Regions from separate parts of the Homo sapiens genome. Here region 2 is linked to region 1. The links are contacts of gene promoters, found by promoter capture Hi-C in blood cells and fetal thymus (Javierre and others, 2016). All regions are on one chromosome and are shown on one strand. Each heading gives the region's core, a stretch centred on a gene start or on the middle of the fragment in contact. The rest is flanking DNA. Distances are from core to core; before and after follow the strand shown. Region 1 holds the start of MED6 (mediator complex subunit 6). Region 2 holds the start of EIF2S1 (eukaryotic translation initiation factor 2 subunit alpha).

Region 1 (4,646 bases), core at 96-2,595:
CAAAACACAAGGAAACAAAAAACTAGAAAAACAAAACAAAAAGCTTTATGGATCACACTTTTTATTGGACACGATACTCTTCCTTTTTGCAATGTCCTCCCACTAGGCTCCCAACCAGGCCCTCCTGAAAAATTCTCTCTCAAAACTTTACTCTGTGCATGCACATACTTCTGTTGGGACACCTATTTTATACATACCATCTCAGGCAGAAAATTCCCAAACTGAAATGTACAGGCAACGTACTTTTATTCTACGGAGTTAACAAATTTTTAATTCCTTGTCTATGAGGTTGAAAATCCCAATTAAATTTCTGGTCTTCCCCTCTTGCTCCTGGGTTGTGGTTAAATTCTTGGGGAGTCTTCACAGTACCTAAGTTTTGGAGAAGATGTAGGCACCCGCCCTCATCCCTCCTTCAGATTTTGGCATCCTCTTCCTAGTATCTGTGTGTTGTTTGCATATTTCTGTATCGTTTTGCTTTTACAGAGCCACACTGAAGCTTGAGAATCTGAGGCTTTCTGTAGCTTCCCCGTACACAGAATCATTCCCTCTTTGGAGCCTTGCTACCTACTCCAGACTACTTGGAATGCAGACATTTGCTCATTACTCTGGGACCCAGGGGTATTCCCTTTCTCTTAATCTTATTAATATTTCACTTCAGAAGCATTTCCTGTGTTGTGAAATTTTTCTCAGAGGCTTCTTTAATTGGTTTAGATTTTTAATGGATTTAGTCACATAAAAGCCAATGACTCCCAAATTCTTAAGTCCTGTCCCATCCCAATACCTGAGGCAGGGAGAAAAATATAAATGACCATCGTTCCTAAATCTGATAGCTCAGTGGATACACCCGGGGAGCTTTTAAAATTAAGAGACACTCCCAAGCACAACTCTACAGCATCAGAATTTGTTTTCTTGACGATCACAGACGATCAAGGCAGAATTCTTCCATCAGTGGTGGGCGTGGGGCGGGACTCCACTCGGTCTTTCTGTCCTCTAAGTCTTCTAATTTTTTTCCCAGTAATCCGCCCTCCCGTTCTCCTTCTTTGGCCCATCCCTCTTCTAGTCTTTCCCTGCTCCCCTGCACCAATCTTTCTGCGTCCCGTCCCCTCCCATTCCCCTACCCCACCCCACCCCACCCCACCCCACGTTTCCCGCCTCCCGCGCCTCTCCCGCTTTCCGCCCCCTCGCGTCTCCTCCCCTCCCACCCGCACCTCCACCCCCTGCCTCTCTCCTGCCCGCCCCGCCCCCTCTTCCGCTCTACGTCCCTCCTCACCCATGCGCACTCTCTTCAACCCGCTGCTTCCGGCGGCCTAGGCTTACGTTTACTTTGCGCCGGAAAGAGAACCTGTAAACGCTCTCGGAATTATGGCGGCGGTGGATATCCGAGGTATACTGTATTGCTATATTTTGTCTCTTGATTGTCTGTGGACCAGTTTGGGATGTTATAGCTCGCGGTTTCAAGGTTTAGGTTCCTTTGTGTGAAGTCTCAAGCTTTTTTGAGTGGTTTTTGTGGACAACCCAAGGCTGTGATCTAGCGAAACGTTGACGAGTTTTTTTTTTTTTCTGAGTTCTTGGAGCGTCTCTTGGAAGCGTCGGAGAGAAGGGGTTGGAAGAAGCTCTGGGTTTTGAGCTTTCAGAGCTGGAGTTTTGTTCTACACACGTATCTCTGCAACAACATTAGGGCTATTCTATTGGAGTGAAGGAATGGCGTTTAGGCAGAGAAGGGAATGGGGTAATAAGCCAACTTGATTTGATTCATCTCTTGGGACTTGGCATGGTGGCTGCCTAATTCTTTAGACCGCGCCACACGGGTCCCTGAGCATGAATCCCAGATATTTTCTTTTTTTTTGAGTCGATAATACTTTACATCGAACGTCCAGCAATTATTATGGGCAGGGGTCGTATTTTTTTCACAGCTGAACTGCAGAAGTACTCAAATATTGAATCAGTCAGTGAATAAATGTATGGAGATGTCACCCCTTAACTGCTGCTTGATCTTGGGGAGCATGTAGAGTTGTTTTTGTGTATATAGTACTTGATTTTTAAAGGGAGATGTTTGAGATGCCTTTTTTTAATATTAACTGGATTGGGGTCTAACACATTTATTACAAATATTCTCATTTATACTTATCTGGCGATCTGCAGCACTTCTGGATCATGATTTTACATACGTGTCTTTCATTATTTATTTCATCACTTGCTGATGGTTAGAATGCTGTTAGAATGCTTGGGCTATGTCAACATGTTGCCTTGCTACAGAATAAAAAAGAGAAATATTTAGTTTATAAAATGTTTTACTTATAATTCAGATTGTTAGGATCATGGCAAAGACTCTAAAATAAGAGTGTGTTTGGTGTGTTAAAGGAACAGCAAGGAGGTCAGTGTGGCTGGAGGGTAGTGAGAGAGGATGTGGGAAGGAGATGAAGTCAGAAAGGTGTTGAAAGCTATGATAAGGTCTTTGGCTTTTCCTCTGAGTAAAACGCAGAGCCATTGGAGGGGTTTCCATCAGAGGAATGATGTGATCTGACTTTTTTTTAGGACTACATTGGCTGCTGGGAACAGTGTAGGAGGGCAAGGGTAGAATTAGGAAAACCAGTTAGGAGGCCATTTCTGAAAATGTTATTTCCTGGCCTGTTGTGTATTTGGTTATTGCATGATCCAGTTATGATGAACTATCTAAATGGTCTATACTAATTATTTGGTTATTAACGCACTTCATCTGTCTCCTCCTTTATTTTATAGCACACAAAGTACATTTTACCTTTATATAATTTTTCTCGGTTGAGTCACTTGGCTCAAAACTGCCTGTCACCTTGAATTAGGTCTGACTTCTTTGAAGATGCCTGAGGTAATGACAGTATAAGAGAGATTGAAGTTTTTCAACCAGTATTGTATAGGCATTTTGATGTTCATGATTTACACCTAGTGGTGTTCAGTACAGTCAGTGGTATGAAGCATCATGAAAGCCAATAGCCAATACAAGCTCATTTATTAAAAGTATCTAGCTCTATCATGTCTTTTTAAAAGCTATGATTTAATTCTACGCTAAATATGAAACCGTGTGGCTGTAGTTAAGGGAACTCTACTTCCTGTTTATCCCTTAGCTTTTACATCATTATCATCTCATCTACAATAATAGCTTCCTAACTTCTCTATCCCTAATTGAGAGATCTCAAACTGGTAGCTATAGATGTGTTCTCTTGGGCATACATGTTATTTGAAAATTTTGAATTCCTTGCCAGCATTAAGGATTTCCAATAAAAAAAAAAGTCCTTTCTAAATTTTAAATCTTATCACTTCTTCACCTAATGAAATTATTCTCTAAAGATATAATATACTTTATATTTTTACACCTCTGTATATACATTCTCTCTGCTTGGAATTACTTTGCCCTTTTCTCTGTGTAAGTTTTTATTTATTCTTTAACATACCGTGCTAAAACCCACCTTCTCTCCACATGAAAAATGATTTTCGTTTCCCCAGGTCCTCTGTAGTCTCGTAACACATTTCTTCATGTCTTTTTTTTTTGAGACGGAGTCTCGCTCTGTCGCCCAGGCTGGAGTGCAGTGGCGCGATCTCAGCTCACTGCAACCTCCGCCTCTTGGGTCCAAGTGATTCTCCTGCCACAGCCTCCCGAGTAGCTAGGATTACAGGTGTCCACCACCATGCCCGGCTAATTTTTTGTTTTGTTTTTTTTCTTTTTTTGAGACGGAGTTTCACTCTTGTTGCTCAGGCTGGAGTCCAATGGTGTGATCTCGTCTCACCACAATCTCCGAGACCTTCTGGGTGCAAGCGATTCTCCTGTCTCAGTCTCCCAAGTAGCTGGGATTATGGGCATGCACAAACACGCCAGGCTAATTTTGTATTTTTAGTAGAGACGGGGTTTCTCCATGTTGGTCAGGCTGGTCTCAAACTCCCAACCTCAGGTGATCCACCTACCTCAGCCCCCTAAAGTGCTGGCATTACAGGCTGAGCCACCGCACCCGGCCAGAATTTTTTGTATTTTTAGTAGAGACAGGGTTTCACCATGTCTTTATCATAAGACTTAATCATGTTATTGCTTTCTTGCATAATCTCTTCTGTTACATCATGAGAGTGTGTTGGTTAGGATCTATGTCATCCTTATATTCATAGTGCCTACTACATTTGATGTATAATAAATGTTTGTTGGATTGGATTCTTTCTATTTTTCTAATCCTTTATCATTTTGTTTTCTTTCCCATAGACAATCTGCTGGGAATTTCTTGGGTTGACAGCTCTTGGATCCCTATTTTGAACAGTGGTAGTGTCCTGGATTACTTTTCAGAAAGAAGTAATCCTTTTTATGACAGAACATGTAATAATGAAGTGGTCAAAATGCAGAGGCTAACATTAGAACACTTGAAGTAAGTTATTTTAAGAAGGTGGCACTTTTTCCAAATACAAGTTTTGCAATGAACAGTTCTTTCAAACTGTGGATCATGAAGTGCAGAGTAGAACTTTTAGAAGAAAAACTGGAGTTTTGTTTGGGTTTATGCAAATTTGACATGCAGGGTAACTATTAGTATTCACTTTTAACAGAGGTCTTTTCTGTATAACTTCATAATGTTTAATTACAATATAACAGGTTTAGATTTGGATCTGATGAGTGATTTTGGCAATGCTACTGT
Region 2 (4,708 bases), core at 109-2,608, 3.2 Mb after region 1:
GTTACTTGTTCTTTCACATACTGCTAACAGGTGATGAGTCAGGATTTGAATCCATGAAGTCTGGATCCAGAGTCTGTCCTCTTATCAGTAAGACTATATTCTCTCAAAACTATTCATAAATATATTATAATTAGAAACATTTTACTTAAAAAGCAACATTAATATATATTCAGTGCCAGAGTACATAACACCAATAAGTGCAAACTATTAGTACTCATCTGTTTGACAACAAAGAGCAGCATATTAATGACAGTAGCAGAGATGTATTTCTTTGTAGGGAATACAAAATCCCTACAAAATAGGGATTTAGCAAATAAAGAGAAGTAGACATTCAATGGCCTTACCCACCAAGAAACAGCTGACTGTTTGTTTCGTTTTTAAACAGGGCTTTTCGAGGGTGGGGGTGGGGAAACTGTTGTTGAATATGTGTATGTAAAGCTCTCAAATTTGAGAGCTAAAAAGTTTCAAATTGGGCATAAAAATAAACTATGTTACAGAAATGTATGGAACAGTTGCAAGACATTTGACCAGTGAAAACCACATTTACTTACCAAGCTTCTCCAAACAGTAAAGGTGATGCTTTTAGGGGAAGCAAGGCTTAATTTGATGGTTAAAAAACATGGGCAATCATGTAAGAGAATCCTGAAGGGATATGACTATGAATACTATTTCTTCAGGAGGCACAAGTCTCTTTGCAACATAAAGGGTAAGTAAAGGAATACTGTTGATGGTATGTTATTCATAGTAAAGATAGATAGTAGTTAAGTACAAAAAGAATCCATACCACAAAAACCTGCATATTGGTTGACAATTTTTGAACATATTGCCTAATGAAATGCTAATAACTTAAATTTTTTTTTTAACTTAAAAAAATCATTCCGCAATATCGAAGTCACACTAGGTGACTTCACCTCTTTATCTTTTTCACAGCATTCTTATTTTATTTGGTCCTCAAGAAGTGTCAAATCAGGCAATTAACATAGTAAACTCGGGGAACAACTCTAGCCTTGTGTTCCAGTCCTTGCTCTGCTACTTACTAGAAGTGGCTGCTTGGGAAAGATAACATCCTTTGAACTGTAGTTTCTCATCTGTGCCATGTACATCACAGGTTTACTGAGGGTATCACATGTATACGTAAAAACATTTTGAAAACCATTATGTGCTAGTCAAACATAAAATATTGAAAGAAAAAGAAGGTATTTCCATTTTGTAATATAATAATTTGTTAATTTTTTTTTCAGTAGCTACTATGTACTAAGCACTAATGATACAACAAGAAAGACTCTTACCAGGCCAGGCGCAGTGGCTCACACCTGTAATCCCAGCACTTTGGGAGGCCGAGGCGGGTGGATCACTTGAAACCAGGAGTTCGAGGCCAGCCTGGTCAACATGGTGAAACCCCATTTCTACTAAAAATACCAAAATTAGCTGGGTGTGGTGGCAGGCACCTGTAATCCCACTACTATAGTGGCTGAGGCAGGAGAATCCCTTGAACCCAGGGGCAGAGGCTACAGTGAGCTGAGATCGTGCCACTACACTCCAGCCTGGGCAACAGAGACTCTGTCTCAAAAAAAAAAAGAAAAAAGAAAAAAGAAAAAAAAAAAAGACTCTTACCTAAGTAATTAAGTATAGAGTGGGAAACAAACTAGCAAGCAAATAATTACAATACAAAGTACTATGAAAGGGCACAGTGAAGCAATGAACAGGAAAGGTGGAACAGAAATACTAAATTATAATACTTCCTTAAGAACAAATGCTTAATAAGTACTAGCGTAGGAGCTAAACTCAAGTAATCCGACATCAAATCCAGAATGTCTTTAACCCACAGAACCTCAATATCACAACATGCTATAATACTCTTATGTGTTCTGATGTAAAAAGTATCAGCCACCTTTCAAAATATATCAACCAAACTCCAGGCTAATTTCAAATACCCTGCATAGTCAGTTATTTTGCATGACAAATGGTAGGTAGGACTTCTTTCTCAAAACAGTGCATGGTCAAACTGCTATAATGGATATAGAAGTTCACATTCCTTTCCAAAATATATTATGTGATGGGGACAACTCTCGTGATAATTCTAATTTGGATCTAACACGTATTAGGAATGCTCTCTGAATGCTAGTTCTTGGTATAGGAGTGCTACATAAGTAAAGCTTTTATTTCATCATTATAGTTGAAAAAGAAAGTTATCACCGAATCTCTACAAACATTACTGTGCATGAGACAACTACATCTTTTGGCACCAGATGAACTAAGAATAGGTAGCAAAGTTCTGTACAAGTCACCCCCAAACTATTGACAGAGATTGTTCCTTGAATAACAACTCAATTGAGGGGAAATAAAGACTTCTCTGCTATACTTTTTCTCGAAGAAACCATGTTTTTTGCTTAATAAAAATTTAAAAAGCCTAAGTTTTGAGGATAAAGAGACCTCAGCATGACTGTGTATTTAACCCGAAAATATATCCTTATCTTAGGTTTTAGTTATGCTTAACTAACATAGTTAACCTAACATATGCTTAACACAGTTCTATTCTCATTGTCGCCAAAATACGACAAACTGATAGTAACAGTAATAAACTCAAGTCTCATTTAGTTTTGGTTCAAGGGGTGACTCATTCAATTATCAGATGAAAAACTACTCGGACCCCGCTCTTTCCAACACGGTGCCCGTCCCACAGGTTTCTCAGGTAAGAGGCCAGTTTGGTTTCCACTGAGACGCAGGGGAAATTTTTGGTAGAGCTGTTGGGGCGGAAGAAAAGATGGAATTCTCAAGCCTGGAAAAAGCAAAGTGCTCAGCGTCCTGAGCCGGGGTTAAGAGTTACGGTGTCACAGCGTTCTCCTGAGACCGCCCCATCGTCATGGCATTCTCACTTTCGGCATATTGTAGAGGCTGTACAATCCACTCGGCCCACTTTCCTTCACGAGATTCCTCTGCTCGAACAACGATGCCTCTGGAACACAGGATGACCTACACGGAGCCGGCGAGGAGGCCCACGACAGCGCGGGTGGTGGCGGTGCTGTCCAGCCACTTCCCGCGCAGGGACGGGAAAGGGAGGTATTAGCCCGGGGCCTACCCGCTCTCGAACACCCATGTCACTGGACACAAACCAAAGTGAGTTCCTGGAGAAACCGAGCTTGGGATTAGTCACCTGAGGTATGTGTGTGATTCCCGCACTGGAGCCCAGAGCCGACTTCTTCAATCACAGAGACCAGACTTGCTTCCCCCTCACCGGCCGCCGATCCTCCTCAGCGTGCGCTTCGCTCACTCCACCGCGCATGCGGAACCTCCTCGCATGCGCAAGCGCTGAACGAATAGAGGCCCCTCTTCATCATTAACCATAGAGTCTGGGTCCTCCGAGAACAAGGACGAATGTAGATCATGGAAGGACCTGAAAAGTACTGTTTCTCGCTATCTTAGCTTTAGCTAAGTAACCTTCAAGGCGCGAGAAAGACATAGGACTCCGATTCCTTGCCTCTGAAGAATGAATCCTCTTTCAAAGTTTCAGCTAACCATGAGATGGCGCTGTGACCAAAGACGAAAGGTGGAGAAAGACAAGGCGTGCACGCTTCGCTCCTAGTCTTTGGCCTGGCGCGTGCCGCGTATTGCGCAGCCGCAGGGAAGCTGGATGGGGAGGGGTTGGGAGGCGAACCGGAATTGAGGGGTGGTTCCGCGGTGCGCGCGCCTCGACATCCGGGCAACGCCTCTGTTCTGTCCTCCCCCTTCGTCGCCTGTGACAACCGGAAGCGGAAGTGAAAATGGGTGTCCCTGCTGCCTCTTAGCAACAAGAGGGGTCAAGTGACACAACCAGCTGACTCCCGTAGAGGAAGACACTGTGGAGGCCAGTTCTGGAGCTATTGCAGCCTCGGTTGCCCGGCCGGGGACCCGAGCCGAAAAGTTATCGTCAGAATGTCGGGCAAAGACCGAATTGAAATCTTTCCCTCGCGAATGTAAGTAAAGGAATGGGATAAGCCGCTTTCACAGGTTTAGGAACCCGGAGCGCGGTCCCTTCAGACCCTGGGCCACAGTGAGGGTCCTTGTTTCCTGGGAGGATCCTGAGCTTTTCCCAGGTTCTTTTCTTGAGTCTAGGGCGAGGCTTCCTGACGGCCTCTTCGCGCATTCCTCCTGAGTGAATCAGGCTGGACGAAGCGATCCCAGCCGGTAGGAAAAGGCGCCCGGCCGGCGGGCTTTTGTGGAGGTCTGCTGTCTTTATTCATTAATGGATTCATCCATTCCACATACCCTTATTGAGCCGGGCACTGGATTTATATAACTGAACCGTCGCCACCTCTGCCCTACAGAGCTCACAGTTTACGTAGCCAGACATTCGTCTGGAAAGGCCAAGGAGGTTTTAATAAATGCTCTGAGAAGGGAAGTTTACTGAGGATATAGAAGAGGTCCCTAAGCCAAAGTGGGGATGGAATCGAATCGCCCTAGCATAGCCCTCGGATTCGATCTTGGATCCCCTTACTCATTTTCCAAGATCCCGCCAAATGTCACCTGCTGTGAGAGGATATCCCTGTGTTTCTGAGGCACTGCTTTTGCTCTCTCACCGCTGCACCTTGTTCAGACCTGTGTTAATACCGGTCATCACGCTGTAAAGTAGATATTTGTTTATGTGTCTTTCTCTCCCACTAGACTGTGGGCTCTCTCCAGGATGAAAGAGTGTCTTAATCCATAGAAGGTCCACAAAAAAATATTTCTT

The links. Contacts are between HindIII fragments. The CHiCAGO score rates a contact against its expected background, and 5 or more counts as called.
Region 2: a fragment that was not itself captured here is called in contact with the fragment with the promoter of MED6 in region 1 in 1 of 17 cell types (fetal thymus); the score reaches 6.8 in fetal thymus.

What each region holds. Positions count from the first base shown.
Region 1 is chr14:70,597,354-70,601,999 of GRCh38, reverse strand. MED6 (mediator complex subunit 6) reads left to right here and starts at 1,345. Exons shown (of 8, transcript NM_005466.4): 1 at 1,345-1,384; 2 at 4,223-4,382. The coding sequence starts at 1,363. RefSeq lists an enhancer at 644-1,843. The HindIII fragment of the contact is 992 bases long and covers 499-1,490 here.
Region 2 is chr14:67,358,903-67,363,610 of GRCh38, reverse strand. It overlaps EIF2S1 (eukaryotic translation initiation factor 2 subunit alpha), which reads right to left and starts at 3,283. Exons shown (of 8, transcript NM_004094.5): 1 at 3,155-3,283. It overlaps ATP6V1D (ATPase H+ transporting V1 subunit D), which reads left to right and starts at 3,807. Exons shown (of 9, transcript NM_015994.4): 1 at 3,807-3,953. The coding sequence starts at 3,913. It also overlaps a transcript of GPHN not described here. RefSeq lists enhancers at 3,028-3,827, 3,848-4,067, 3,910-4,696. The HindIII fragment of the contact is 1,601 bases long and covers 558-2,158 here.